4 separate regions of the Homo sapiens genome follow, and regions 1, 3 and 4 are each linked to region 2. Evidence: promoter capture Hi-C in 16 types of primary human blood cells and fetal thymus (Javierre and others, 2016). All regions are on one chromosome and are shown on one strand. The core of a region is centred on a gene start or on the middle of the fragment in contact, and the rest is flanking DNA. Distances in the headings are between cores, read along the strand shown. Region 1 overlaps FAM83D (family with sequence similarity 83 member D). Region 2 holds the start of PPP1R16B (protein phosphatase 1 regulatory subunit 16B). Region 3 overlaps ARHGAP40 (Rho GTPase activating protein 40). Region 4 overlaps DHX35 (DEAH-box helicase 35).

Evidence for each region. Contacts are between HindIII fragments. The CHiCAGO score rates a contact against its expected background, and 5 or more counts as called.
Region 1: a fragment that was not itself captured here is called in contact with the fragment with the promoter of PPP1R16B in region 2 in 3 of 17 cell types (total CD4 T cells, activated CD4 T cells and total CD8 T cells); the score reaches 6.7 in total CD4 T cells.
Region 3: a contact is called between a fragment that was not itself captured here and the fragment with the promoter of PPP1R16B in region 2, in 3 of 17 cell types (total CD8 T cells, total CD4 T cells and naive CD4 T cells). The highest score is 6.6, in total CD8 T cells.
Region 4: a fragment that was not itself captured here is called in contact with the fragment with the promoter of PPP1R16B in region 2 in 1 of 17 cell types (total CD4 T cells); the score reaches 5.1 in total CD4 T cells.

Annotation. Positions count from the first base shown.
Region 1 is chr20:38,945,022-38,952,444 of GRCh38, forward strand. It overlaps FAM83D (family with sequence similarity 83 member D), which reads left to right. Exons shown (of 4, transcript NM_030919.3): 3 at 2,855-2,979; 4 at 6,518-7,423. Among named protein-coding and RNA genes, the nearest start is that of DHX35, 14 kb to the right of the region's middle. The HindIII fragment of the contact is 204 bases long and covers 5,354-5,557 here.
Region 2 is chr20:38,803,132-38,810,788 of GRCh38, forward strand. PPP1R16B (protein phosphatase 1 regulatory subunit 16B) reads left to right here and starts at 2,566. Exons shown (of 11, transcript NM_015568.4): 1 at 2,566-2,661. RefSeq lists enhancers at 879-1,741, 1,742-2,603, 1,886-2,155, 3,184-4,022, 5,602-5,651 and 1 more and silencers at 2,416-2,795, 2,986-3,205, 3,266-3,615. The HindIII fragment of the contact is 16,329 bases long and covers 1-4,108 here.
Region 3 is chr20:38,638,974-38,646,946 of GRCh38, forward strand. It overlaps ARHGAP40 (Rho GTPase activating protein 40), which reads left to right. Exons shown (of 15, transcript NM_001164431.3): 9 at 254-413; 10 at 2,753-2,835; 11 at 4,731-4,937; 12 at 7,074-7,214. Among named protein-coding and RNA genes, the nearest start is that of ARHGAP40, 41 kb to the left of the region's middle. RefSeq lists a silencer at 7,244-7,363. The HindIII fragment of the contact is 1,388 bases long and covers 3,838-5,225 here.
Region 4 is chr20:39,034,761-39,042,074 of GRCh38, forward strand. DHX35 (DEAH-box helicase 35) reads left to right here. Exons shown (of 22, transcript NM_021931.4): 22 at 3,739-4,961. The coding sequence ends at 3,783. Among named protein-coding and RNA genes, the nearest start is that of DHX35, 76 kb to the left of the region's middle. The HindIII fragment of the contact is 217 bases long and covers 2,995-3,211 here.

The DNA.
Region 1 (7,423 bases), core at 4,206-6,705, 140 kb after region 2:
GGTTGCTTGTGTCTCCTGTTCCTCTCTGTGCTAGTGAATTTGTGCCCCTTGCTGTATGGGGGCTGATGTCCCCATGCTCTGCCTCTGTAGCTGGTTCAGAATGTTGGGTTGTGCTGTCTGTAGGAACTTGGTCACACATTGATGTGCAGGCGCTCACAAGTGCTTTGGCCACGATCACAGAGGCATATGCAACATTCAGATGTGTGTCAAAGGGAAAGATACAGAAAACCACACCTAATCTGCCCATAATGGTATTCTTATGCTTATTATATGTTGATCCTTTAAGACTTGGCTCAGGGGTCATCACCTCCTCCAGGAAGCTCTCCTCCCACCAAGTCCAGGTGTACCTCTATGACATTCCCTAGTCGTTTTTCTTTTTTTAATTTTTATTTTGAAATAATTTAAGATTTATAAAGAAGTTACAAAAATAATATAAGAAATTCCTGAATACTCTTCACCCAAGTTCTCCACATGTTAACATCTTACAAACCTCAGTACAAATAACAAAATCAGGAAATAAACTTGATATCAATACTATCTAATTTACAGACTTATACATTTCCCGGTCGTTCCACTAATGCCCTTTTTTATGGTCCAGGATCCAATCCAGTCCAGGATCACACCTTACATTTAGTTGTCAAGTCTCCTTCATGTGATTTAATCTGGAACAGTTTCTCCATCTTTCTTTGTCTTTTAGGGTCTTGACCTGCCCCCACCCCCCCCCCACCACCCCACCCCCCGTTTTTTTTTTTAAGAGATAAGGTCTCGCTATGTTGCCTAGGCTGGTCTTGAACTCCTGGACTCAATTGATCCTCTTGCATCAACCAGCCTCCCAAGTAGCTGGAACGACAGACATTTGGCACTGCGCCCGGCTGGATCTTGACACCTTTAAAGAATACTAGCTAGCTGGGTGCAGTGGCTCACGCCTGTAATCCCAGCACTTTGGGAGGTTGAGGTGGGCAGATCACCTGAGGTCAGGAGTTTGAGACCAGCTTGGCCAATATGGCGAAACCCCGTCTCTACTAAAAATACAAAACAATTAACCAGGCATGATGGCAGGTGCCTGTAGTCTTAGCTACTCGGGAGGCTGAGGCAGGAGAATTGCTTGAACCTGGGAGATGGAGGTTGCAGTGAGCCGAGATTGTGCTACTGCACTCCAGAGTGAGACTCCACCTCAAAAAAAAAAAAAAAAAAAAAAACAATTTTTTGTAGAATTTGGGTTTGTCTGATGTTTTATCAAAGTTAAATTCAGATTACGCATTTGGTAAGAAGACCACAGAAGTAGCATTATGTCTTGCCATAGTTTTGTGTTTTATTTTTAGCTTATTTTGAATATTGATAGATTAACAGAAGTTGCAAAGATTGTACAGAAAAGTTTCATGTACCCTTCACCCAGTTTCCCCAAATGTTACATCTTATGTAACTTATGGTACAATGTCAAAACCTGGAAATTGACATTGTATACAGCTTTGTGCCATGTTATCGTCATGCATGCATATCCAGACAGAAGTTTCCATCACCACAAAGATCTCCCTCCTCCTGCTCCTTTATATAGTCACATCACTCCCCTCACTTTAACCCCTAGCAACCACTAATTTGTTCTCTATTTCTATAATTTTGTCGTTTACAGTCTATTTTGTAAATGGAATTATACAGTATGTGACCTTTCAAGATTTGCTTTTTTTCTCTCATCACAGTGCTTTTGAAATCCATCCAAGATGTGCACGTATCAACAGTTTGTTCCTTTTCATTGCTGAGTATTGTATGGTATCTTATACCATTCAGCCACTGAAGGACATTTGGATATTTCCAGTTTTTGTCTGTTATGAATAAAGTTGCTGTGAACATGTGTAGAGGTTTTGTGTGGATATAGGTTTTCATTTCTCTGGATGCTGTTATGTGTTACTGTAGTTTCTAAATCAATTAGTTTTCTCTCTCTTATTCTAGTCCTTGAAGGTAAGGAGCATGCCTTACATCTCTGTTGTCTCACGGCTTGGCACATAGTAGGGGCTCTCTATGTTTATGGAATCAATGAGTCAAACAAAAATCTTACACGTTTAATTTAAATGTGTAAGATTTCTAACGATATAGAGCCACTGGTCTGCTCCAGAGAATGCAGATTGTTGTAGTATTTTGTATGCCATTGTTTATACATTTATGTGTGTCATTTTACAGGAATAATTATGCATACATGTGCAGTATATTGCCCCAGCATACCACTACCAGTGTACGTTTTTGGTAATTATGTATTTGTAGGAGATGTGACATTGCTTGTTAAGCCACATGTGATATGAGTGTTTCTGCCTCAGCAGGCCTGTACTAGAGAAGGCCTGTCCTGTGTTCCTATTCTCCATACCCATTATGGTGTTGAGGGTGAGTGAGGATGGACTGTTACTCTAATGTGATGCCATTAAACAAACAAGTTGGAGGAAGATCAGCTTACCTTCTTTCAGACTTTGCTAAAATGTTCTTTATTACTAGCATGTTTTCTTTGATGATTTTATCCCACACATTTTGCTTCAGAATCATTTCTTGGATTCTGTTGTTTAGTATCCCAAAAAGGTTGAGTGTTCTTTTAGAACACATACACGCATGAACTAAGGGTCTCAAAAGTAAATATAAGAAAAGAACAGATGAGAAGATGGACCAAATGTAGAAGTAACATCACTTGAGGCTTGAGAACTGTCTGGCTAGTGTACCATGTATACTGTCACTAAATGGTGACCCTAAGCCACGCATATGCCAATAATTATATCTGGGAATTGTAAACTAAGGCTTTTTGTCCTAACCATTTGCTCAGCAGATGAGTATTGCTGAATTGTTCATTTATATTTCTCCCACTCCCTGCCAACAGTTAATGACAGTTCGGACTATCACAGGAAATATCTACTATGCAAGGTCAGGAACTAAGATTATTGGGAAGGTTCACGAAAAGTTCACGTTGATTGATGGCATCCGCGTGGCAACAGGCTCCTACAGGTAAGTCTCTAACCCGTCCAAGGCTTATTAATCTAAACTCTTCAGAAGAAGCATGTCATGTAAAGGTAAAAGCCTTTTCCTCTCAATGGGAGCCTGTATGGCCATGCATTCTGATATGCGTGCATCTGTGTATAGCAGCTGGTTATCAAAGCCTCCTGTTAGAGGCAGTTTGGGTGGGGGTCACTTCCCCTGTCCTGTAGTCCATAGATTAAAATGCAGAAGTTGAACTTGTATTGAGACAACACAGTCAGCAAGTCCTAGATTTCAAGCCTTGGCCCAGGTCTGCAGGGGACGAACTGGGGGTTAACAGCAACACACAGTCTGGAATCCTGGTTCCTTAGGGATCTGGACCCAGCTTGCCCTGCTCACTTGAAGGTAGGGGCAGTTGCAGGCATCTCCATTAGTGTTGAAGGCAGAGCCAGAGCTGTCAGCTTTAGACTCAAATCCTCCACGTTGCTTCAAGCCTTGTAATTTAGAGCTTTAGTCTAGAAAATACTGATTATGTTTCTGACCCACCTTTGAAGTGTCACATTGGCAATGGCATCTTAAGGTAGAGAGCAGGAAGGTTGAAGAGAGGGTGGGGATAATGAGCGGTTTACATGAATCTCTAGAATTTGTGCCATTTGTACATATGTGGCTCCAATGGTTGTATGTTCTGCCGCCTCTGCGGTAGATTGTCTGATGGTTTGCATGAGGTGTGTCTGTAGAATTTTAAAAAGAAAACCCCATTTTTGAAGAAACACACAACCCTGAGTGATAATTACGTGTCAGCCCTGGGTAAAGGTAGAAATGTGAAGGCTTGTGGAAAATGAGGCAGTAAGATCAAGAAAATCTTGACACCTTTCTTTTTCAACAGTACCCTCATTGCTCAGAACAAAATTTGAACTTTCTTCACCAAAGAGGCTGTGGGAAAAAACAAATTGAACTCTTTTTCTTGGAATTTCCTTTTGTAAGAAGTTTATTAAAAAAATTTGTTTTTAACCTAAGTAGGATTTATCTATATTAACCAAACTTAGCTACAAATGGACTTTTGCTGTTCTAAAATATAAAAACTACCCTCTCCAAATGAAATTGATGACGATGATAGCTTCCATTTGTTGAGGAGGTTTTATAATCTTGGTGTTGGATAGGTGCTTTATTTACATTATCTCATTGAAGGCTTTCTTTTTTTTTTTTTTCGTGATGGAGTCTTGCTCTGTTGCTCAGGCTGGAGTGCAGTGGCGCCATCTTAGCTCATTTCAACTTCTGCCTCTCAGATTCAAGCGATTCCTGTGCCTCAGCCTCCCGAGTAGCTGGGACTACAGGCATGCCACCATGACTGGCTAATTTTTGTATTTTTAGTAGAGATGGTGTTTCGCCACGTTGGCCAGGATGGTCTCAGACTCCTGACCTCAGGTGATCCGCTGGCCTCGGCCTACCAAAGTGCTGGGGTTACAGGTGTGAGCCACTGCGCCCGGCCCAGCCTCATTGAAGGCTTTCAAAAGAATCTTCCTTCTCAGGCTTTGAAGGCAGTTTTCAGGGGGACTTTGCATTAGCCATATCTTGGTTACAGGAGACAGAGTTGACTGTGTTCTATGATCTCTGTTTGAAACCTACTTCTGGTACAAATACCACCATTAGTGGGGTGATGGCAAGTGTCAGCTAACTCTCAAACGTACTGACTCGAAGAACCCGGAAGGAAGCATAGAAAGGTACAGTTGGTTTTCAGTTCATCTTGACGTAGGAGCCACACGCTGATCAGAACACTATATCCTGGTTCTGATGTTTTCGAGTTGACTTTTGTTCTTAGGCAGGCTCTCCCTTTGAAGTCAACGATCCTGGCTTTGTTTATTTTTTGTTTTTGAGACAAAGAGTCTTGCCCAGGCCGGAATGCAGTGGACGATCTCGGCTCACTGCCAAGTTCCGCCTCCTGCGTTTACGTCATTCTCCTGCCTCAGCCTCCCGAGTAGCTGGGACTACAGGCGCCCGCCACCACGCCCAGCTAACTTTTTTTTGTATTTTTAGTAGAGATGGGGTTTCACTATGTTAGCCGGGATGGTCTCAATCTCCTGACCTTGTGATCCGGCCACCTTGGCCTCCCAAAGTGCTGGGATGATAGGCATGAGCCACCGTGCCCAGCCAGATCCTGGCTTTCTTATATGGCCTTTAGTAGCTGTCTCCCAAAGGGTGAAACTCTTTCACTCAGAATTACTATCAATCCCTTCTGTCAGAATCCATTTGATAAAGAAAAAAGAAATCTCTGAAAACTTACTTGGCTCTGGTGGGATCACATGCCCACCCTGAATGAATCCCTGCATCCAAGGGAATAGGATACTCTGGCCAGTGTGGACCACATGCCTGCCCCTATTGTGGTTGGAGAGAGTATGATAATGAAAGCTTTCTGGGGTACAGGTGGGTGTGAGTTCTGCTAGCAGAGGAGGGAGGCGGGGAAGGGACACCGTACAGGCAAGGGCACATGGCCACTAATCAGCTCTAAAATGTTTTGAGCCATGGTGTTTTGTGAAAATGGCAGCACAGCCCCATGACTGTGGGTCCTCCACTGTTAGTGAGGAAGACTACTTCAGCAGCCACAAGGACAAGCTTGAGGGCAGGAAGGCCACTGATGTTGCCACTCAAACAGTAGCAAGGAGCAGGGCATTAGCAATTCATAGGGCCTAGGGTCTGATCTGGAGTCCAGCAGTAGCTCCCCTCTGTGATAATCCCTTTATCTGGTTTCCTTACCTTTAAGATGGGGGTGCTGGCCTAAATAGTTTTCTTACCTTTAAAATGGGGATGCTGGCCTAAATATTTAGAAGCCCTATTTTTTATTTTTAATTAATTTTTTGAGATGGAGTCTCGCCCAGTCATGGAATCTCGCCCAGTCATGGAATGTGCAGTGGTGTGACCTCAGCTTACCGCAACCTCTGCCTCCGGGGTTCAAACAATCCTCCCACCTCAGCCTCCCGAGTAGCTAGGATTACAGTCATGCACCACCACGCCTGGCTAATTTTTTATGTGTTTTTACTGGAGACAGGGTTTCACCATGTTGGCCAGGTTGGTCTTGAACTCCTGACCTCAAAGGATCTGCCCACTTCATCCTCTCAAAGTGCTGGGATTACAGTCATGAGCCACCGCGCCTGGCCCCCTTTCCAGTTTTTAAAAACTCTGAGGCAAGGACCAGGTGAGGTGGCTCACACCTGTAATCCTAGCACTTTGGAAGGATGAGGTGGGAGGACTGCCTGAGCCGAGGAGTTCAAGACCAGCCTGAGCAACATAGCAAGACCCCGTCTCAAAACAAACAAACAAACAAAAAAACCCTCTGAGGCTGAGCATTTAGTGTGTTTGTTAAACAGTTGGCCTTTTTACTTTTATGGTAACACACATAAATGTTATATATGTGTTAAGGCTAGTTAAATACATGCAAATGGTAGGTATGATATCACCAAATTTGTGACCCTTATGTGGTAAGATACCTGTACTATATTATTCAGATGGACAGTGAGTAAAACAAAATTGCTCATCCTTACCAGCTGCTGTTTGTTTCTTTTTAATCTTTAAGTTTTACATGGACGGATGGCAAATTAAACAGCAGTAACTTGGTAATTCTGTCTGGCCAAGTGGTTGAACACTTTGATCTGGAGTTCCGAATCCTGTATGCCCAGTCCAAGCCCATCAGCCCCAAACTCCTGTCTCACTTCCAGAGCAGCAACAAGTTTGATCACCTCACCAACCGAAAACCACAGTCCAAGGAGCTCACCCTGGGCAACCTGCTGCGGATGCGGCTGGCTAGGCTGTCAAGTACTCCCAGGAAGGCGGACCTGGACCCAGAGATGCCCGCAGAGGGCAAGGCAGAGCGCAAGCCCCATGACTGTGAGTCCTCTACTGTTAGTGAGGAAGACTACTTCAGCAGCCACAGGGACGAGCTCCAGAGCAGAAAGGCCATTGACGCTGCCACTCAAACAGAGCCAGGAGAGGAGATGCCAGGGCTGAGTGTGAGTGAGGTGGGAACACAAACCAGCATCACCACAGCATGTGCTGGTACCCAGACTGCAGTCATCACCAGGATAGCAAGCTCTCAAACCACGATTTGGTCCAGATCGACCACTACTCAGACTGACATGGATGAGAACATTCTCTTTCCTCGAGGAACTCAATCTACAGAAGGGTCACCAGTCTCAAAAATGTCTGTATCGAGATCTTCCAGTTTGAAGTCTTCCTCCTCTGTGTCTTCCCAAGGCTCTGTGGCAAGCTCCACTGGTTCTCCCGCTTCCATCAGAACCACTGACTTCCACAATCCTGGCTATCCCAAGTACCTGGGCACCCCCCACCTGGAACTGTACTTGAGTGACTCACTTAGAAACTTGAACAAAGAGCGGCAATTCCACTTCGCTGGTATCAGGTCCCGGCTCAACCACATGCTGGCTATGCTGTCAAGGAGAACACTCTTTACTGAAAACCACCTTGG
Region 2 (7,657 bases), core at 1,316-3,815:
GAGGACACCAGTCATTGGATGAGGGCCCCATCCAAGGGCCTCAGTTTAAGATGATCACCTCTTTAAAGACCTTATCTCCATCCACAGTTACATTCTGAGGTTCTGAGACTGTAACCAGTACAGTTCAGCATATGAATGGGGGTGAGGGGGCACACAATTCAGCTTATAACAGTTATTTTTTCACTCTCTTTTTGTTCTTTTTATGTTTAATTTTTTTTTTTTTTTTTTTTTAGAGACAGGGTCTTGCTCTGTCACCCAGGCGGGAGTACAGTAGCACCATCATAGCTCACTGCAGCCTTGAACTCCTAGGCAAAAGCAATCCTCTTAAATAGCTAGGACTACAATCATGAACCACTACGTCTGCCTAATTTTAAAAGAATTTGTAGAGACAGAGTTTCACTATGTTGCCCTGGCTGGTCTTGAGCTCCTGGCCTCAAGTAATCCTCCTATCTCCACCTCCCAAAATGCTGGGATTATAGGTGTGAGCCACCAGGCCCAGCCATAACTTTTCACTTTCTTGATGATACCCCTGAAAGCACAAAAGTTTTTAATTTATCTATTTTTTTTTCTTTTGTTGCTTGTGCTAATATCTAAGCAACTACTGTTTAATCCAAAGTCATGAAGATTTAGGCTTATGTTTTCTTCAGAGAGTTTTATAGTTTTAGCTCTTACATTTAGATCTATATGTTGCATATAGTATGAAGCAGGGATCCAAATTCATTCTTTTGCATGTGGATATCCAGTTGTCCCAGCACCATTTTTTGAAAACACTATTCTTTCCCCATTAAATTGTCTTGGCACTCTTGTTGAAAATCAATTGGCAGTAAGTGTAAGGGCTTCTGTCTGGACTCTCAGTTTTATTCCATTGGTCTGTATGCCCATCCTTATACCCGTACCACCCTGCCTTGATGACTGAAGTTTCCTAGTAAGTTTTGAAATCAGGACTTGTGAGTCCCCCAACTTATTCTGAATTTACTTTAACTTTTGATACCGAACACAGTGTGAGAGGTGAATGAACAGCATGACATTGGAGTTGGGAGCCCCCTCCCTCCAAAGGCCTTATTTTAGGAACACAGGCCCCAAGTGCCACACAAGCCTTGGAGAGATGGGTTCCCATCCTCTCAGCCCATGGCTCTTCATTATCAATCAATGGAAACATTCTTCGGAGAACAATGATTCCCTTGGGTTATTTTAAACATGGCTTTAAGTCTTCCCCACATGCTCTACTGTCTAATTGCTTTTCCTGAAACAGTGTCATTCACAACTGGATTATTAATGAACTGAGAGGGAGCCAGGGAGCCAATGAAGGGGGCTTACAGAGTTCCTGGAGAGGGCCTGGGGGCCTGGAACAAGTTCAACCCACAGATTTTCTCTCCCCCAAGAAAGGTGACTGAGCAAACAGAAAATCACTAAACTCAGGTGATGCTGGTGGCCTCAAAAGAATATTGCCAGTGAAAAAAAAAGGATTCGGGCGAGTTCCTCAAACATGACAGCTGAGAATCAAATTAACTGGGTACCATCCCCAAACTCCCCAAACTTAAACTCTGAATTTCCCCAGCTGGCTGGCCCTGGGGTGCCTAGGGCTCTCATCTGTAGGCCGGGAAAGCTCAGGAAACAAGGCCTTTGTGGAGAAGAGAAACCTATTGTTCTAAGGCCAGGGTTCAGCAAATGTGGATTCCAGAGAATGTTTGGGGAGGTTTTCTCTGCTTTGTTTATGAACTTTCTTTTCTCTTCCTGGGGTGGTGATGGTGGGGGGTGACTCTCAGCAACTTAAATAGTTAAACCCATTGTGTTGTAAAGAAAGGCTGGTGCACAGAGTGCAGAGGCCTTCAGCCCCAGAAAGAGGCTTGAATGAGGTGACAGAAGCCACCGGGTATGTTTTGCTTTTTATTTTTAGCGTTAAATCTCAGGGAAGCAGCCCCTATCTTCATCCTGCACATCTCAAAGGGCGTCAGACGTCAGCAGAGGTACGACCACTTCCTTCCTCCAGCGCTTCACCTCCCTTCTTTCCAGAAAGAGGAAATGATGCGAGTCCACACCGCAGGCCACAGCCCCCATGTCTCGGCCCCAGCAGCTGGGGGACCTGGCCCCACAGATCTGTCCCCAGCGCAAGGCCAGGGCCGGCCCCTGGACCTCCTGGGAAGCCTTCAGACTCAGGCCGCGCAGGCCTTCAAGCTAGGAACCCTGAGTTCCTGGCCCTGGCATTCATTCTGTGTGACCTTGAGCAGGTTACCACTCCTCTCTGGGCTTCAGGATTCCCGTCTGTCAAATGGGAGCAGGGATACCGTCCTTGGCTTCCCTCTTTCCATGGTCGGGGTGGGGGTTAGGAAAACTATTTTGGAGGAGGGGGCAGCGTTAGGAAAACTATTCCGAAGCCTGGCCACGTCCCAACCGGTTTCAACTTCCTGCAGCTCAGAAGAGGGGTCCCCACCCGAGAGCGCCGGGACCCTGTCCCGCGCTGCCTCCCAAGCCGGATGGGGTTGAGCGCGCCCACCCCAGTCCCAGGAGCTCAGGCCCCGCCTTGGGGGAGGAGCCGAGAGGCGGCGCGGAGGCTCGCGGCCGAGCAGAGCCAGCTCTGTCGCCGCTGGAGCAGCTGCGGCTCGGGGACCCACAGACACAGCCGGGGTCGGGAGCCGCCCGGGGCAGGGCTCGGGAGAGCGGGTGAGTTCCCCGGCGGCGCCACCACCCTCCTTGCGCTCTGCGGCTTCGCAGGGCGGGGGATGAGGATGGGGCGGGGAGGTGGTCCCAGCCTGCTATCACCTAGCTGGGGGCCGGGGCGCTTTGGCCAAGGGACGATAGCTTGAGATAAATGGGAGTGTGGGGACTCTGGAAAGACGGGTACCGAGAGCGCTAGGTCCGGGAGTCGGGCTGGAATGGGGGCGTTCTCCCCGGCCTCGCAATTCCTTGACGAGGCCAGGGGAGGGGGCGCATTGGCAGGTTGTTGGCTGCGGCCGTCGTAGACCGATCTTGGGGCGGGGAGGTGGGGTCCTCGGTCTGTTCTGGACTCATGGGGCCGCCGTCTGCCGGGGGTGCAATGCCGGGCGGCGGGAGCCACAGCGGACACCAAACAACCCCCCCCCGCGCACTCTCCCGGCCGGGCATGGTGGTGCCGCCCCCTCGCGTGGCGGGGCTTGGTCCTGGCGGGCAGCGGCAGGGCGCAGAGAGCGCTCCTGCCCGGGCGGGAAAGATCCCCAAGGCAGGCGCCTCCACCTGCAGACCCGCCCCGCCTCAGGATCCGGCTGACAGCACCAGCCAGCCCGGGGAGACCCCGCGAGTGGTAGTTCCCCGGGAGGGGCGCGCCCGGCCTCTCCCAGGGCCCCGTGCGCCGGCGGCTGGGTCCCCCGCGCCAGGAGCGCTCCCCTCTGGGCGACTCCGGCTCATCGATTCCGGCCCAGAGGAGCGCCCCCGGGCGCCGAGGATGGGCGGAGACGTGCAGCCGCCCCTGAGAGGTCGCCCAGAGGGGTCTCCCCAAGGTCACCCGGAGTGCCCAGGCTGAGCTGCCCAGACCGCCCCGGGTGGAGAGCCGGGAGGCAGGCGCTCGCTGCCCTCCTCCTTCCCCCATGTAGACTCCCTTCCTCCGCTCCCCCACCCCGGCCCGGCCTCCAGCTTCACTGGAGATGCTGATGATGCAGCTCCCAGCCCTTGGAGGATAATTGAGCCTGGGAGAGCTTTGAATCTGGCCCTCCTGAGACCCCAGGGCTGCGCCGCTGCCGCGCGCCAGGCCTGGGTCCCGGTGCTCCCGGGCACCTCAGGAGCGGAGGGAGAGGGATGTGGCTTCATCAGCGCTTCTAGGAACCGAAAACCGAGCTGCCTGCGCGCCCATGTGATTGCATTTCACATAAAGGGCCCCTGTTTTCACTGTCAGAAGAGCCCCCCAGCTCTCCGCGGCTCTGGACACCAGGTGCCGCCTCTGAATCACCCTCTGTGGAGGACCCGGGGCCCGGAGGTACAGGCGCCCTTTCCCGCAGGGCTCTCCCTGGAAAGGGCCTGCCGATGGCGGCCTCAGTCCGCAGGGGTACTTCCCTGTGTACCCTGCCATTTCCTGCGGCTGGTGAAGCACCGGAGAAAAACCGTCCATCTAGGAGGCCTCCTCCAAGGCTGGTAATAAAGCTTCTTAGCCCAGCCAGCGACTAGCTGTCTACTCGTGGGCAAGGTACTTGGCTTCTGGAGTCTCAACTGCCTCTAAGATACGGGGCTAACAGCCGCCAGGCTGTGGGGAGATGAGGGAGAGGCTGGGTGCAGCAGAGCGGGAGGATGAACACTCCTTGGCCAATACTGGCCGCCCTCGGGATTGGCTTTGAGTGGGGCGTGTCTCTCTTAGACAGGTGCAGAAGTGGAGCCCTGGTGGGTGGTTCTGCAGGGGCTGGGGGAGTTTCCACATCTTCCTCCCCCAGCTCTGTCATAAAAAGCCAGCTTGCAGGAGGCCGGTGGGGGCCAGCAAATCCTTCCAGCCGGCTGCCTGCTCACACGGCCCTTCCCACACAAATCTCCCATGCCCTTCTCTCCCACCTGTCACCCAAATCCCATCTTCCTGGCTGAGTCCCCAGGATGCTGGGGGCAAGATGTCAACCAGGCCACCCTGGACTGTCAACTCTGTGCCTACTTGTCTACTGGGGTCTACCTAACAGTGTTCCCCTGTCCTGGAACCTTCCTGGCTCCAGCTCTTCCCAGCCTCTGTAATGTCTTCTTTCCCCTCTTTTGGTCTCCTACCACCGTGACACTCATTAGTGGCTCTGTGGTTCATGTGTCAAGGGCCCCGTGCCATCTGTGCTCTCCAGATCATCCATGGCCTAGAAAGACACGGTAGGCAAGGCCCTGTGCCCACTCAGACTTTGCTCTCCCTGGTAATTGACGGAGTGGAGGTTAAATTCTAATCTAGCTGTTAAGTCATTTCAGGAGCTTGAGCCACAGGGCTAAGAGGATACTGATGTAGGCAGGTGGTTTTTCCTTAAAGCCAGAACCTTTCTCCTTTCTGCAGAGCCCATTTGAGCCCTTTGGAAACTAGGCCTATGTGTGATGGCCTCACAGAATCCTCACAACCCCGTGAAGTAGGCATTACTGATTCCCATTTTGCAGATGGGAAAACTGGGGCTCAGCTCCTCTCAAAACCAGCTCCATGCCCCAAGTGTAGCAACAGAGGCTGCAGCCAACCTGGTTTAGGAGAAGGCAGAAGGCACATACCTGAATTCAGGTGCTGTGCTTGGACTCTTGGGACCCCATCCCCCCAACCTTTCCCTCCCCTCTCCCAACCTAGCCACCACCCCTCCTGCACCCAGGACTCTTGTCACATTTGTTGACCAGGAGGTCCCAACTGGCACTCTTCCAGCAGAGACCAGGAAAACCTTCACTGTCCTGAGTGCATCTTAGCAATTGGGCTTCAAGAAGGGCTCGGACAAGCCTGCCTCTTACAGAAAGCTACGAGTATGAAGAGTGAGGGAGCCAGAGAGGTCTAATTTTAATTAGGGATCTATACCTAAAAGCTCTGTGACCCTGTATACATGACTTAATCTCTCTGAGTCTGGTTTTCTCATTTGTAAAATAGGTATCACAGTAATGCCTACTTTGTGGGATTGTAAGGATTCCATGAGACCATTAACACATAGAAAGTGCTCAGTACTAGGGTGGAGCATAGTGGCTCACACCTGTAATCCCAGCAGTTTGGGAGGCCAAGGCGGGAGGATCACTAGACGTCAGGAGTTCGAGACCAGCTGGCCAACATGGTGAAACCCCATCTCTACTAAAAATACAAAAATTAGTGCAGCATGGTGGCGCATGCCTGTAGTCCTAGCTACTTGGGAGGCTGAGGCACGAGAATTGCTTGAACCCGGGAGCAGGAGGTTGCAATGAGCCGAGATCACATGACTGCACTCCAGCCTGGGTGACAGAGCGAGACTCCATCTCAAAAAGAAAAAGAAAAAAAAAAGTGCTCAGTACAGCATCTGGTGTGGGTAGGAATGCAGGAAATGATCATTGTCACCATCACTACTATTTCCTCCTTTGTGTTGGACTCTCAAAGGTCCCACCTCCTCCAGTGCTAGGGTGGGGAGTGAGTGCGACCCTGTCTCTTCTGCCTGTAGCCATCAGGACGGGGAAAGCCTCTCAGCCTGTCTCCTGGGGCGGGGGTGGGGGCTCACTCCTGGGAACTTGAGTCTAGCACCAGCTTTTCCCCGGGGAGTCTGTGAGCAGCCACTTAGCCTTTCTCAGCTGACTGCCATTTTCCAGGATTCATTGATTCATTCAAAAGACGTTTATTCCATCCCAGCCCTTGTGCTTAGCAAGGGATTTCAAGATGAATGAGGCAGCTCTCAGAGTTCTCCCTCTATGGGGAGAGGCAGGCCTGGAGACAGATAATGAGGACACTGTGGGATAAAGGCTGCAACAGCAAGAAGAGAGAGTGACGAGCAGATCCACATGGCTCAGGCTGACCCAGGTCTGAATCTTGAAGCTGCCACCTTGTAGCTGGGTGAGGATGGACAGAGGCCTTACCTCTCAAGCAGATAAGCCACCTCCCTAAGATGATGATGTGAGGAGAGAAGTGAGACACTGTGGATAAAAAACCTAGCTTGGACCAGGTGCGGTGGCTCATGCCTGTAATCCCAGCAATTTGGGAGGCAGAGGTGGGCAGACTGATTGACTCCAGGAGTTCGAGACTAGCCTGGGCAATATGGCAAAACCCCGTCTCTACAAAAAATACAAAAAATTAGCCAGGCATGGTGGTGTGCACCTGTAGTCCCAGCTACTTGGAAGGCTGAGGTGGGAGAATCACCTGAACGGGGGAAGTGGAGGCTCCTGTGAGCCATGATTGCGTGCACCTCTGCACTCTAGCCTGGGCAACAGAGTAAGACCTTGTTTCGAAAAAAAAAAAAAAAAAAAAACAAAACCAAAAAACTTAAAAACCCAGCTTGGGCTTTCTAGATATTAATAAGTGCTCACAGATGTTCGTTGCTATTATTAGTCTATTATTGCCAATAACAGGTGGGCAAAAGTTGCTGTGGGAGCATGTTGAGCCCTTCAGTGACAGTTTTCCAGGTGGTAGGGCAGCCCTAGCCGGGAGAACAGCATGTGCAGAGGCACCGAGGCTTAAAAGTGCTGGATGTTTTTGGAGAGCAGTGGGAGGAGTTGCTGATGGAGCAGAGTCATGAGAAAGTTTGATGGAGGCAGAAGCAAGGCCAGGGAGGTAGCAGAGGCTATCCTGCCGGGAGCCCCGAAGGATTAAACACTCACTGACCCGAGGCAGTCCCTCTGCACCTTCCTTGGAGGGTGGTTCTCTAGTGAGGGTTGTCCAGGAAACTTCAGGATTAACTTTTGCATGGGAGGAAGGGCTGGTCTCTGCTCAACTATCCATACATTCACCATCCTTCCCTCTTCATTCCACCCAGGAAGCACGAAGAAGAAGAGGTCCACTCCCTCTTCCTGAGATGCTTTTCCCACCTCTGCACTTGTTTCTCTCTTCCTGGGACTCAGTTTCTCACCTGAGAGAAGAGGGTAGAAGTGGAGGAAGCGTCATGACCTGACTCACTGATTGATCATGATATAGCACCAAGTGCATTTCTGGATGCTGGTCACTGTCAAAGGTCTTTACTTGCATCGCCATTGAATTCTCATACCAATCCGTTGAAATGAATGCACTTATCCCCCACTGCACAGAGGGAGAAAC
Region 3 (7,973 bases), core at 3,282-5,781, 160 kb before region 2:
GGCTGAAGGTGGCATGATGAGCATGGTGGCAGAGAGTGTGGGCCCTGGAGTCAGGCCACCAACGTTTAATGAGCAGAGCTCTGTGCTCAGTGACACGCACGTTAGACCATTTCGTCCTTACTTCAACCCCACGAGGGAGGTGCTCTTGTTGTCCCCACTTTGCAGATGAGGAAACCAAGCCCCAGAGAAGTGGTAGAGCGACTTCTACCAGAGCCCTGGGCCAACTGTGTTTTCATGCCCCGCCTTCCTGTAGGGGCTGGAACAGAAACTGGAGAGAGACTTCTATGCTGGCCTTTTTAGCTGGGACGAGGTTCATCACAATGACGCCTCTGATTTGCTCAAAAGGTTCATCCGGAAGCTGCCGACACCTTTGCTCACGGCTGAGTACCTCCCGGCCTTCGCCGTGGTGCCTAGTGAGTGTGCCCAAGCCCTTAGCCTGTGCAGGGATGGAGAGTTGGCTCACTGGCCTTGGTGGAGAGGGGAAGCCATGCAAAGGCAGGACTCCGTGTTCCTGGAAATGTCTGTTCCAGAAATGTCCAACTGATGGGGGAAGAAGCAAGTGTGAACATGTGAGCCCAATGTGTGCACATACACATGTGCACGCGTGTCCTGCGTGTGTTGTATGGCATGTGTGCAGGTGTGTGAGGAGAGGAGGCTAAGGTTTTGCACACTACAGTCCCTATTAGTTCTCACATGGATGAGTGGACTAGTTTCCTTCACATCTTGACATCCATGGGGTTGAGCTTATCAGCATCATTACCTGTGTATCTGTGGGCACACATGTGTGTGCATGTCCATCTGTGTGCACATCTGCAGATCAGCATGTGTTGCACGGACCTTGCTGTATGTATAGTCTGCATATATATGTTCCTGTCTGGACTTCTTCACAATCCACAATGAACAAAGATAGTCACTTCTATTTTTCTCAAAAAAATACAGCAGCTCTCCTGAGATCTCACTCACAACCGTGAGGTTCTCCCTGTCTCTCTGAATTCTCCAAAAAGCTCCAAGGCTCAGGCAGTCTGATTTCTACCCCCAAGCTAGGGACAGGGATCCTGAGAGGTCCTCTCTGACCTTTGATTCTCACGACCGCAGCGTTTTGGTTGTTGTTGTTGTTCTTCTTCTTCTTCCTCCTCTTCTTCCTCTTCTTCCTCTTCTTTCTTCTTCTTTCTTCTTCCTCTTCTTTCTTCTTTCTTCTTCTTTCTTCTTTTCTTCTTTTCTTCTTTCTTCTTTCTTCTTTCTTTCTTTTTTTTTTTTTTTAGAGATGGGGTCTTGCTCTGTCACCCAGGCTGGAGTGCAGTGGCATGATCCTAGCTCACTGCAGCCTTGAACTCTTGGGTTCAAGTGATTCTCCTGCCTCAGCCTCCCAAGTAGCTAAGAATATAGGCACATGAGACCACGCCTGGCATACTTGTTTAACATTTTTTTGTAGTGACGGGGGTCTCGCTATGTCGCCCAGGCTAGTGTCAAACTCCTGGCCTCAAGCGATCCTCCCACTTTGGCCTCCCAAAGTGATGAGGTTACAGGCATGAACCATCAGGCTTGGCCTCAACCTCATTGCAAAACATAAATCAGATTCCTTCCCTATGCTGTTGCCCACCCTCCACAGCACTCTTGTAATAAGATTCCACTTCTTACTAGGCCCACCTCCTCCGGCTCAGGTCCTGCCTATTTCTGGCCCCCTTTCCTCCTGGGCCCCTCCTTCCCCACTGTCTGGCCAGGCTCTCTCGCTTTGCTGTTCCCCCTCCTCTTTCCTTCCCTGGGGCCTCTGCACTTGCTGCTGTGTCTGAATGGAACCTCCCTCCACCCTCATTTGGCTGCTTTCTGCCATTCAAGTTCCAGCTGGCTGTCATTGCCTGCGAGGGGCCTTCCGTGACCCCACACATCATGCTGCCTGCCAGCCTCTATAATGATGCAATGATGCCCATCATACTCTGATTTATTCTTTGCTTGTGTATTATGTCTCCTCTCTGAAATGTAAGCTCCATGAGCCTGTGACTTTGTTTTCCTCCTTTACTATTGTGTCCAAGATTCCTAGACTGAGCACAGCACCTGACAGGTACTTGATAGATATTTGTTGATAAGTGAGAGAAGGAAAGAAGGGAAGGAGGGAGGGAGGGAGGGAGGAAGGAAGGAAGGTAGGTAGGTAGGTCATATGGGGTCGCAGGCCTGGCGCCCAGGGTGCTCAGCCTCTGTCTCCTACGCAGCTCTTCTCCAGGTTCCAGCCAGCTCTCAGCTGCTGGGTCTTGTCTGGCTCTGATGAACTCCTTCTTTGAATCTATAACTACTACCTCCTCCTACCTACCTCCTCTCCCCGGAGATCCTGACACCAGGTGTGAGACAGCTTTTCCTTTTCAACCCTCACAACACAGAGGGTTTCATGAAAACCTTCTATCTGGGCCCATTGAGCTCTCTGTCTCCCTTCCTAAGGGTGATTTGCTGGTTCATTGCATTTCTGACCCTGGGCTGCAGCCTGGACTGCATCTAGGTCTGTGCGGCATGTGCTTGCCTGCACATGCATGCGTGTGTTTATTTTGTTACACAAAGTATAGCGAGTGAACCTCCCACGAGCACTGGTCAGGGCTCTGTCTGAGCCAACATTAGACAAGGAAATAGTCCCACACCTTATGAAAAAAGGGATTCCTGGCTGTCCCCTGGCTTTCCAGCTCTGGAATTTCCCCAAGAAGAGACCAGACTGAGGGAGGGAGTCCCTGAGCCTCCCATGGAGACTGAGGTCCCTCCCTTCCCGCAGACATCCCCAACCTGAAGCAGCGCCTGCAGGTTCTTCACCTGCTCATCCTCATCCTCCCAGAACCCAACAGAAATGCCTTAAAGGTAAGAGTTACCATGCACCACCACCACTCTGCCATCTCAGCCCACAGCCACAGCCATGGCTTCAAATGTGCTCATTCATTCATTCATTCATTCAACAACTCTGCCAGGTGCTAGGGTTCAGTGATGACCCACACAAACCTCTCTTGAGACTTTTTCTTAAAGAAAGTAGATGAGTCCTGAAAGGGGATAGTCCCGGAGTGGGCACTGCAGAGCGTCAGTTCCACGTGGTGCTAACAGGTGTTAGCACCTTGTGGCCAAGCATGGATGGGTAAACACAGAGTTCATGAAACAAGGTTAAGAATACTTTTCTCCCCAGGACTTCTCAAAGCCTTTGGTATATTGAGGCTTTAGAGAATCTCCAAGTGGGATTAGAGTATGCAGCACTCTCCAAACTCAGTTGATCACAGACCTCTTTTGTTGTGGAAAGCATTGCATGGCACTGGTGTTCCATGCAGAACCAGTTTGGGAAACAGACCCTTAGCAAATTCTCCTTGTCGTATGGGAATGGATGCAGGGCCTTGGCCCAGCTCCCTGTACCGTCTTGACTGTCCTTCAGTCAGACTCAAGATGTGCCTCCAGGATCAGCCTGAGGAGGCCCCGGGTCTTCCTGTTTGAGTTTCTGCTTCCTTTTCAGTAAACTGAGGATGATAATAGCATTAATAGCATCTTGTCTAATTGTTTTGGAAATCATAAAAGCTAACTCATGAGGAATCATGGGGTAGAAGATGATGCTTTGCAGGGTACTCAATATGTGTCCTCTTTTCCTATCCTCTCTCCCTCCCTCTCTCCCTTCCTTTCTTCCTCCCTCCCTCCCTCCTTCCCTCCCACCTCCCTTCCATTTATTCTTCCTTCCACCACCCATTTATTCTCATTCGTCCATCTATTAATCTTTTCTTTCTCCATTCATCCATCCATCCATCCTTCCATCCATCCATCCCTCCCTCCCTTCTTCACTCCGTCCCTTTGTCCTTACTGGCTATATGACTCTTGGCACATTCTCCAAGCTTGTTTCCTTATCTGTAAAACACATGCAATAATAAGAGCTACCTTGGCCAGGCACAGTGGCTCATTCCTGTAATCCCTGCACTTTGGGAGGCCAAGACGGGAGGATCACTTGAAGTCAGGAGTTCGAGATCAGCCTGGCCAATATGGTGAAACCCCGTCTGTACTACAAATAAAAAAATTAGCTGGGTGTGATGGTGCACACTTGTAATCCCAGCTACTTGGGAGGCTGAGGTGGGAGGGTCACTTGAACCTGGGAGGCAGAGGTTGCAGTGAGCTGAGCCAAGATCACACCACTGCATTCCAGCCTGGGAGACAGAGTGAGACTCTGACTCAAAAAAAAAAAAACAAAAAACAAACAAAAAAAACCTACCTTATAAAGTTTCTGTGAGGATTAAATGAGATGTACCAATTAAAGGCCCAGGAACACAAAGAATACATAGTAAGTGGTAGCTCTCATCACTTTCTGCTGCTCTTCTCAGTGTCTCTGCTTCTCCCAGCATCTCTGCTTCTCTATTCCTTCCTTTGCATTTTGGGTAGACCCAGACTCCAGAAAGAAGGAGCTATCCTGGGCCTCACCAGGAAATGACCCATGTTCCAGACCTGTGGCCCTTTTCTACCTGGAAGTTGAAGTCTGACCCAGTTGTCTCATTAGTCTCTGAGGGAGCAGGGGAGGGAAAGAGTCTTGGACACACTGCAGAGCAGGAAACGGAGACACAGAGAGGTCATGGAGTGGGCCGGTGACACAGCTGGAACGGGAGCCCCTCTTGCTGCCCTCCCAGCTCCTGGCTCCTTCCTAGCACCCCCTTATCATTCATCAGAATGCCCTGGGGATGGTGGGGAGGCGCCAGGGATGGGCTGAGATTTGAGGGAGGCTCTGCACCCTTCCCTAGGCACTGCTGGAATTCCTCAGGAAGGTGGTGGCCCGGGAACAGCACAACAAGATGACTCTGAGGAATGTTTCCACCGTGATGGCCCCTAACCTCTTTCTGCACCAAGGGCGGCCCCCCAAGCTCCCCAAAGGCAAGGAGAAGCAGCTGGCAGAAGGGGCAGCCGAGGTGGTGCAGATAATGGTGCACTACCAGGATCTGCTGTGGACGGTGAGTGCTGCTGGGCGCTGGGTATCCCTCTGGGTGCAGCTGCCGTGCCGCCCCTGCTCTCCAGGAGCCTGGGCATTGTCCTTTCAGTTCCCTAGTGTGTCCCTTCCAGGACCTTTGTTGGCCTCTGCACAGGCCTGTGTTTTCTTCCTCCCCCTGCCTTAGTAACCAAGAAGAAGTGTCTTCACTTTCTGTCTCCACTGCCATGCCTCTCAGTCAGTCTGCTGCCATCTGGTCTACCCCAGATTGCAGGAGTTCCCCCAACTCCTGCAAATAATTCCTTCACATCAAAGCTTTTATGCTGCTGAGAAAGCCCCATCCCTGAGGCCCAGGATCACAGGGCCTGCCTAAGACAGAGCCCAGAACCAGATAACAGGGATACCCCTGCCCTCCTGCCCCCACCGTGAGCTTTGCCCTGAGTAACAAGTGACAGCAAGGGGAGGAGCCAGAGCAGGAGAGAGGCCCCTCTGCGGTGTCAGCATGCATGGTGCCCCTAGCACTGAGACCCCTCCAGCTCTTGAGACTCCTGTGAACACAAGGCAGCACCATCTACCACTGCTGACCAGGCTGCTTTCTCACCTAGCGATGCGTAGCCTCTTCCCTCCATCTGTTCATTCATCCTTCCATTCAGTCTCCCATCCATCCACCCACTCACCCACCTACCCATCCATCCATCCACCCACCCATCCATTTATGCAACTGCCCGTCACCCACCCACTCACCCACCCACCTATCCCCCCCACCCATCTACTTACCCACCCATCAATCCATTAATTCCTCCAACTCCCCCATCCACCCATATGCCAATCTATCATCCACTCACCCATCCACCAATCATGCATCTCTCCACTCATCTACCAATCCATCCATCCACCCACTCATTCACCCATCCACTCAACCATGCATCTATCCAACTAAACCACACATCTATCCAACTATCTACCCATCCATCCATCCACTCATCTACCAAACCATGCATCTATCCCACTATCTACCCATCCATCCACCCACAGTCCTTCCCTCTATCCCTTCCTTCTTCCATGGTCATTAGGTTAGATTTCCTATTCCAGAAACCAGCAAGTGAAGCCCTCTCTGACTGTTCCCACTTTTCTTCCTACCCTGCCTGGGCACTCGTCTGTGTTCTAAACACAGCAAACGCCAGCTGGCACTCCAAACTCATCTAGTACTTCACACTTCTGAATTTTTGCTTATGCAGTTTACTCTGCCTGGAATTCCCTTCCCTTTTTTTTTTTTCTAAGGGCAGAAGCCTGGTGTCCTCTGCTCATTCTTCAAGACCTCCTAGTTCAAAAGTCAACTCCTCTGTCGAAAGTCCCCTACTCCTCCCTCATACACCCCTTATACCCCCATAGTTCCTTTCTTCTCTGCACTCAGCCCTTTGAGATAATGTTGCTACTGAAAGACATTGGATTGTAATACTTCTTTTTATTGGAGGATGCTTTAAAAATTCAAGAAATTCTTGAATGTTTTCTTGTTAGAAAAGCTTCAGAAAACATAGATGTAGAAAAAGTGAAAGGGGAGAACCCCCATCACCCTCGCTCTTCCCCGTGTGTGTCACCTTTAGACAGCACACACATAGCAGCAAAAAGGGGAATTCAGAATCGACTCCAGTTTCGTCAGACCCTGGGAGACAGAAACATGTTATTAGCAGGGTCCATGGAGTCTGGGTTCTCTGACTCTGCTGGGTTCGGATCCCACAGAGAGGCATGGGTTGATCTGGAGGTCTCTGTAGGAATCCCCCAGTGTGGGCTCTCTGGGGGTTCTCAGAGCAGAGCCTGCTCCAGGTGTGTTTTGGGGACACCCCTGCCTGAGTGTGCCAGTGAGCAGCTATCCCTCAGCAGGTGCAGGACCCTCCAGCTTCTGTCGAGGGGACCACTATCCACTAAGCCTCAGGGTGGGCTCCACTCTCAGGGTCCCCTACTCCAAGGTCCACTTTAGGGGCTGAATGCCCCCTCCTCATTCCACCAAACCAGTGCTTCCGTCCCGTGTCCAACAAATGCATATTTCCAAGCCCTGTGGGACGCTGGGCCAGGGAAGAGGCCACGATGACCCTGGAGAGGGCTCTGCCTCTCGCCCCCAGAAGTCCTATCCCCCTGCCAAAACTTGATCCTTTCTGGCCAGGTCGCCTCTTTCCTGGTCGCCCAGGTGCGAAAACTGAACGACAGTAGCAGCAGGCGCCCCCAGCTCTGCGACGCAGGCCTCAAGACTTGGCTGCGGAGGATGCACGCAGACAGGGACAAGGCGGGGGACGGCCTCGAGGCGGTGAGTGCCCCCGACCCCAGACAGGTGGAGAAGGGCCGAGGCGACAGGAGGGCACCTGGGGCGCGGTGCTTCCCTTCCTCCAGGTCCCCGCTACCGGGCTGCCAGCAACGGCCCAGTGAGGCCACCAGGGGGCGTTGCGGCGCCGTCACGGGGAGCGAGGAGGCGTGGCTGCGAAACGAGGGCTTAGAAGCGGGTTGGGGAGGGGAAATGGAGTGACTCGGAGACTTCCCCTAGAAACCGTCACCGCCGCCCCATTTTTCGGCAGCCCCTGGCCGAGGGTTGGGAAAATGGGAGTCGCTCTGCGGGGTGTGAGGTGATTGGGGCTGGGTGGGGGATAGTAGAAGGGAAGAGCCTTCCAAAAATACTGAGTATTCCTAGGAGGGGTCCTGAACACGGTTCCTTATTAAAGTCCCGATTAGAGAAATTGATGAGCGTTGAGGCTGCACCGTGCACGATGTGTGGGTGATGGGTCTTTATACAAACCTACATGTCTGTGTTTGTGGGTGCGTTGCATGTACTCCTGCTGTGTGTACAAGTGCACCGACACAGGCATAGAAACACAAACATAGGCATAGAAACACAAACACACATCTGGAATGTGTATGTCTGTGATCTGTGCCCAAGTGTCCGGTATGCGTGTGTGTGTATCTTGTGATTTTCAGCGTGGGCATTTGCGTAAGTGCCATGTATGCGTGTTTATGCATCCACGTTGGAACTCCAGGCAAGCTGACTCTTATGTATATGGATCTTTCTCTCTCT
Region 4 (7,314 bases), core at 1,853-4,352, 230 kb after region 2:
CTTTTTCTTTTTTCTTTTTTTTTTTTTTGTATTTTTAATAGAGACAACGGTTTCACCATGTTGGCCAGGCTGGTTACAAACTCCTGGCCTCAAGTGATCCACCCACCTCAGCCTCCCAAAGTGCTGGGATTACAGGTATGAGCCAGCAGGCCTGGCCTGAGCTAATTAAAAAAAATTTTTTTAGGGATGGGGTTTCACTATGTTGCCCAGGCTAGTCTCGAATAACTGGGCTCAAGTGGTGCTCCTGCCTTGGTCTCCCAAATTGCTGGGATTACAGGTGTGAGCCACCATGCCACCAGTTCGTTTTTTATTTTTATTTATTTATTTTTGGGACAGAGTCTTGCCCTGTCATCCTGGCTGGAATGCAGTGGCACAATCTCAGCTCACTGCAACCTCTGCTTCCCAGGTTCAAGTGATACTCCTGCCTCAGCCTCTCTAATAGCTGGGATTACAGGCGTGCGCCACCATGCCCGGCTAATTTTTGTATTTTTAGTAGAGACAGGGTTTTGCCATATTGGCCAGGCTGGTCTTGAACTCCTGACCTCTGGTGATCCGCCCGCCTTGGTCTCCCAAAGTGTTGGGATTACAGGTGTGAGCCACCACGCCCAGCTCCTTTTTTAAAAGGGTTACAGCCCTGTGCTGTTTGTGGCCTGAAAATACTTGCTTTACATATTTTGCCCAAGTTTACTGTTGTTTACAGCAGAAGAGAAAGTCTGAAACCTTTTTCTCCATTAGGGCCAGAATTGGACTACACAATGTTTCCAAAGCGATATTTGAATTGATTGCCACATTGAAAAATTGGGAGATTTCATATTAAACATGAATTTCTGGTTTCTCTTGAAAGACATGTTTAGTCTGGCAACACTAGGCTTGCGTTCCTACGTGGTGGCATCACAGGGGCTTAGGGGTGGCTGCCTGCTGTTAGTGACATCGCCAGGTGCCGTAGTCCCATGTCACTTGCTTACTTGCCTGCTGCACTCTTGGAGACATTTGAATTTGTGACCCTGTAAATGGAAGGATCTCCTCATCTCTCCTGCTCCAGCAAAGTCAAGGGACATTGCCCTCTCAAAATTTTATAATATTTAATTTTTATGTAATCAAACAAAAACCATTTCACACCTTTATAGTTCTTCACACATCCCAATTCAGATATTTCAGCTGGAAAGCAGATCAGCCTGCAGGGACTGATAAAAATGCAGTGTGTGTTGTCTTTGCTGAATTAGGTTGATAAGAATAAACCTGGTGAAAGAAAGGCTTTTCCTTCAAAACCTCTCAGGTGGAAAGCAGCAGACTTCAGGAGTCAAGAGAAGGGATCAGAAAGGTAAACTAGAGGTTGAAAGAGGAATGGTGCAGTGGTCAAAATGCCTGTTAAAGTAAGAAGATGCAGACAGCCAGAGAAGGATAAGCCTGAAATTGTCTTGGATTCATTTAGACTCTTGGAAACAGAATTAGCCCAGAAGCTGAGTCATTTTCCCTTCTCAGCTCAAAATTCCAGTTTCTTTAGGTCAAACCCACAAAGTTAAAGAGCAAATAGCTTCAGAAATTTGAAGAAAATAACAAGCCCAAATTTCTTCATTTGTCTCTTCTCTCCAAATGGCTTTTTTATTTTTAAGCTCATCACCTCCACTGTCATCGGAGTATTTTTAGAGAGGCTGGGACAGACCTTTAGAAATCACCTAGTGCGGCCGAGCACGGTGGCTCACGCCTGTAATCCCAGCACTTTGGGAGGCTGAGGTGGGTGGAACACATGAGGACAGGAGTTCGAGACCAGCCTGGCCAACATGGTGAAACCCCGTCTCTACTAAAAATACAAAAATTAGCCGGGCATGGTGGCATGTGCCTGTAATCCCAGCTACTTGGGAGGCTGAGGCAGGAGAATCACTTGAACCTAGGAGGTGGAGGCTGCAGTGAGCCGAGATCACACCACTGCACTCCAGCCTAGGCGACAGAGCAAGACTGTCCCCCCAAAAAAAAAAAAAAAAAAAAAAAAAAGAAATCACCTAATACAACAACCTCATTGTATAACGATGGTCCCCAAACCACAGAGAAACTTGTGTTGTTTCTTAACTGTATAGTCCAAGGGCACTTCTACTATTAACTTGTCCAAAGCAGATTGATTTCTCAAAGAACCTCCAGATCTACAGGGGTTGCCCATGTATGGTAGATGTTCCTTTACTGAACACAGTGCAGCACCTCACAACCTTCCACAGCCCACAGATCATTCACGGCTCTGTTCCTGGCACCTTTGGAGACTTTCCATCACCACTGTTTTTCGGAATGTTGCTCTCACCCTGTGTGGAGGCCTGAAATGGTTCAGAGTCAGCTTTGTTTATATTCAACATTCTTCCCAGAAAAAAGCACCAAAAATGGCCCCACAGGCACAATGGCGTCATCTCCCATCCCCAAGCTAAGGCCGTGGATATCTAACATTAGCTGTAGGGGTTATATCAGGTGACGTGTAGAGAGAGAATTCAGAGAAATTCAGCAAGACCTACAGCTAGACAGGGGAAGAACGGGGTGACCTATTCAGAGATTTGCCTTCTGGCTTTTAAATTATTTTTCCTTATTCTCAGAGATATCTTCATTATTAGGGAAAACCCTTTTAACGAGGCCTTTGCAAGAGCCTGTAGTAGTCCTCCCTCAGGTGTAAGCAGATGGAAAGTCTGAGTTCTTGTAGCTCATTTATACCCGGGTCCTGTTCGCTCTGTTGTCTCTCACGTCATACCTGGTGGTGCGCTGTGTCTTCGTTCACGCCCTCCATTTTTTCAGGGCCTGCAGTTCTCTCTGGGGGCGATGCGGCTTGATGTTGTGGGGCCATGTGGCTGTGCTAAGTAGTGGGCACACCAGCTCCGGAGCAGTCAGGGTGGGCATTCTCATGTGAGGCTCCCACTGTGTGTTAGTTGGCACGGCTTAGGGATCTCTTGGTTATTGATGATTAGTAATGGGCTGTCGGGTATATCCCAGTTGATGAGTGGAGGGAGGTCTTTCATTAAAAGCTTGTATTTACACACTCTGCCTCAAAGGCATATTTAAGGATTTCTGCCACTTTTGGCTTTGCTTTAGAATGTAAAAAATACTTCATTTTCCAATCCTATTATCTGATGCCTATGATTAGAATATTGTGCTTCGTGTTATTCATAATGGTAGAAAGTGACATTTCTGGGGAAAAAAAAAAGTGTCACTAGGAGGTGTCCTTTCTGTTTTCCCAGCAAGCTTGTACCCTCCATGTGGGCAGAGGCCATATCTTTATCTCCATCCTTGAGCATGGGTACCTGGTGTGTTGAGACGCTTGGTAAATTGACTTCCTTGGTCCTAAAGAGAGGATAATTTTTCTTGACTATTGTCAGGAACTTCTTGGAGATTTGAGATCACTTCCAGACTGAGCCCAGTCTCCTGAGCACAGTTGTCTGGCTGCGGTGCTGTCCTCTAGGCTGGGGCAGAGGGAGAGTCGTGTCTCAAAAAGAAAACCTTTCCTTGACAGCTTCCGCAGAGCCCTGTATAACCAGCTTCAGCCGCTGTGGCTTGGGCCTCGGGTTGCTGGCGGCTGAATTCAGGTCGGCTTCTTCATTGGCCACTTGGGCTTTTTCCTTCCAGGCTGTTTCATGAACAGCTCAGCATTTACTGGGAAGGTGTGGACCAGATGGAAGATTTGATGTGGTCATTCATATGGGGATTATGTTGCAGTCTGGTTTCTTTGTCTAATCAACCCCAACTGTAGTGTCTTCTCTTCTGTTGCAGCACCTGTCTCTGAAAGCCAAAAGGGCCAAGGTCCAGGACCCGTGAGAGGAGCCCACAGCTACAGCTGCAGGGACTGCTGGCGTCCTCTCCTCCATGCTGCTGCCCCTGGTCCCAGGTGGGGTGAGCTGGCACCAGCTCCTGTGGAATGTTTGGTTGCTCTGAAGTGGGCTGCGGCCTGTTCATTAGTCCTTTCTTCCCGCTGCCCACAGCATTTGCATCCTTGCTGGGATCCTGGAGGACTTTGTGCATGGGCAGGCATCCTTCTGTGCTGCAGCGGGCAGAGTGGGAGTTGGCTCACTCAGCACGCTCACTAACCCAGCATGCCACTTCCAGCAGGCATGCAGTCCTGGCCCAGCTCTATGGGAAACAAGGAGGAAAGTTAGCCACTGAAGGCCAAAACACCATGTGGGGTGGACAGAGGGTTTGCTGGGCTGGCTTTGCTTTCCCTGCTGGGGCCACAGCTGTGTTAACCAATGAGGTCTGCTGCCAGGTGTGAACAAGCATGTCTCTACGAATGAACGAAACATTGGGGATCTCTGCCGAAACCACCAAAGGGCATGTCTGATGGGCACAGGGTCTCCCAAACCCAGTGGCTTCTGTCTGTCCTCAGCCCTTGTCCCTGTTTATCTGCAGCCAGGAGACTTGCAAGGGATTGGTGATTGACAGAGAGGACTCGTGCGCTGTTTTGTGTTAGCAGAGGATTTGTGTTTCACAGGTAGGCTTAGCGTCCTCTCAGAGTGTAGTGCCAGGTCCTGGTGCCACGCTAGCTGAGCACTCAGGAGAGTTCATCAGCTCAGATCCCACAGGGCCTCCTCTTTAGCAGGAATTCACAACAGTTTGGATGCCCTAAACTTCTGTAGCTCAGGAACATCACTGGTGTATTTGTTTTTTTGTTTGTTTGCTTGGGTTCTTGCAAGAGCGCGTGGGGACAGTTCTTCCAGCAGGCACTGGTTTTGTTGCCCCAGGGCTGCTTTGCTGTGATGATGATTGCATTTCAACACATGCCAGATGCAGATTTTTTCCCCCTTACTGTTTCAATGACCTTTATTTTAAAAACACATAGCTTGAAAATTTATTTTTATACTGATATTAGTTTGGATGTGCCACTTTTGGCACCAAACGTGTATGTCATTTTTATTTCCATTTTATAAACATGTAAATAATAGTGATAACTTGTTAATAATAGTAAACCTTTATACCTAAAGTAAATGTCTTCCCTCCCACACCTGGTTTTCGTGTCTGTATGTTAAGATGTTCTAATGAATTGTTCGAAGTGAGGGCCTGACATTAGCTAAGAAACTTAATGCTGTGGCATACAGCAGCTTTGGGATCTCAGGGACACAGGAAGCCCCCTAAAGCAAGATGATGTGACTGAATGACCTCAAGACCTGATTAGAGTAAACTGTGGGACATTTAAAAGAAGTCCCAAAGAGGTGCTAATTCTTGCCAGTTTCCAGTTGGGATCTTCCTGTAGAGAGGTCAGAAACATTATTTTTCAAGTTTGGCTTTAGGACTGGGGCTGATCCTAAAAAGCTTATATGGCGGTGGAAGGGGAAAGGTACAGGTTTCACACCCTCGGGTTGGAGACCAGAGTCCACTGGGAGCCCGGACAATCTGGAGGGAGCACCCAGAGGCAAGCCCGTCCCTGCATGCTGCCTCTACCCCTGGGCGCCTGATCCTGAGCACATGCTTCCCCTCTGTCCCTCCACCTCTCAGAAGGCAGCCCTCCCCAGGCGACACCCCCCAGTGTTGTGTCCTGTGTTATGTCACAGTCTGTGATGGGTGGGACAGGTCCTTGCTGTCCGAAGCAACTACAAAATCCTGGGCCCATGGGGAGGCCCCTTTACAGTAGGGTTGGTTAAGGCTGGGACCACACAACTCACCAGGGAGTGGGGCCCGGCCTGGGCGAGAGAGATGAGAGCTTTTGACTTTGTCTGTTGCAGGTCTGTGTCCCTGTTCCCATTGTCAGCCCACAGATGTGACAGCAGGGCCTAGTACCTCACAGACTGTCCCCCAGTACTTCCACAGAATTAGTCCCCTCGGGCTCCACACAGGTCTTCAGATACTGCTAGTAAAATTCCCCACAGCATTGCTGTGTCTTCCCTTTGGAGCAAGTGAGAGGGCAGAGAGAAGCTGGCGCTGGAAAGCATGGAGGCGGTGGTGCCCTGTAGGCCCAGAGATGGCAGCTTTCTGTGTTGGTGGCTTGCAGAGACCCTGCCAGTTTTCTGCCATAGCTGGCTTCCCCGGGGGTTGGACATTGTCGTCACAGGGAGCCCCTGGTTCAGCCAGTGCGCTGCTCAGTCCAGCCAGCAAATGTTGAGCCCTCAGGCCATGTGCATGGCACAGGGATGAGGCGGAGACACTTGACAACAAGTAACCAGATGAGTGGACCAGGATGGAGCTGGGCGCACGAGAAGGACAGGGTGGCAGGAGATGGCAGAGGTCCAGTAGGGGTTGTTAAGGCCAGGGCTGTATCCACAGAGACTTCCCCACGACAAGATGCTTTCCTGGTGAAAGGACAGACCGCTCTCATGTTCTTCCCTGGCCATCCCCACATTGCTGAGCATTTCATGTGGGCCATGAACTTGGAGAGCTGCCTAGTGCCCCAGCTCCATGCTCCCATCTCCACTGTTTTGTCCTGGTGTCAGCACAGCCTACTGCCAGTGCTGCTCCAGCTTCATGGGCTGGGCCCTGCCATTCAGTGCTGGGTTGTCCCCAGCACCCCAGCCCTGCCCTCAGCTCTGTTTTCCAGGGCCCGGCGCTGACAGTGTGGCTGACATTTCTCCTAGCCTGAGCAAGAATGTCTGCCGCTGACCAGACAGAGGGTTGGGTGGCTGGGGGAGGGAGGCGCAGGCCAAGGGGCCTAAATCTGGAAAACCGCAAGACTCCGTCCTGGAGCCACAAGACTGGATGTCTGGCAGTGAGGCCTGGGAAGCTGTAAGTTGTAAAAGCCCCATCTCGGGTGGTTCTGATGAAGTGGTGGGCTTGGGAATCCTGGGGACAGGAGTTGAAGATGTGAAGACATGCAGCCCAATGGACAGATAGCCCCCAGCGGGGAGATCAGAGCTTCGAGATCAGAGCGTCAGGTCTGAGTGAAAGCTGATAAATTGTTTCTTCACAAGTGTGCTTAGACCCCAGCCCAATTCCCCTTACGTGTTTCCCCAGAACACAGATCTGTGGGGTTGGGATTCTTCCCCAGGCAGGTTGTGGCAGCAGGCATCAATGTCAGCTCACTATGAATTTTCCTGAGTCTTGCAAAAATGAGGAATGTGTAGTAATGAGCATTTTATAAAGCTTAAGTTTATTCTCTATAAAAGACCATCCTTTAGTGTTTTTTATTTTTTATTTTTATTTTTTGAGTCAGAGTCTTGCTCTGTCACCCAGGCTAGAGTGCAGTGGCATGATCTCGGCTCACTGCAACCTCCGCTTCCCGGGTTCAAGCGATTCTCCTGCCTCAGTCTCCCAAGTAGCTGGGATTACAGGCACCTGCCACCACACCCAGCTAATTTTTGTATTTTCAGTGGAGACAGGGTTTCATTGTGTTGGCCAGGCTGGTCTCAAACTCCTGACCTCAAG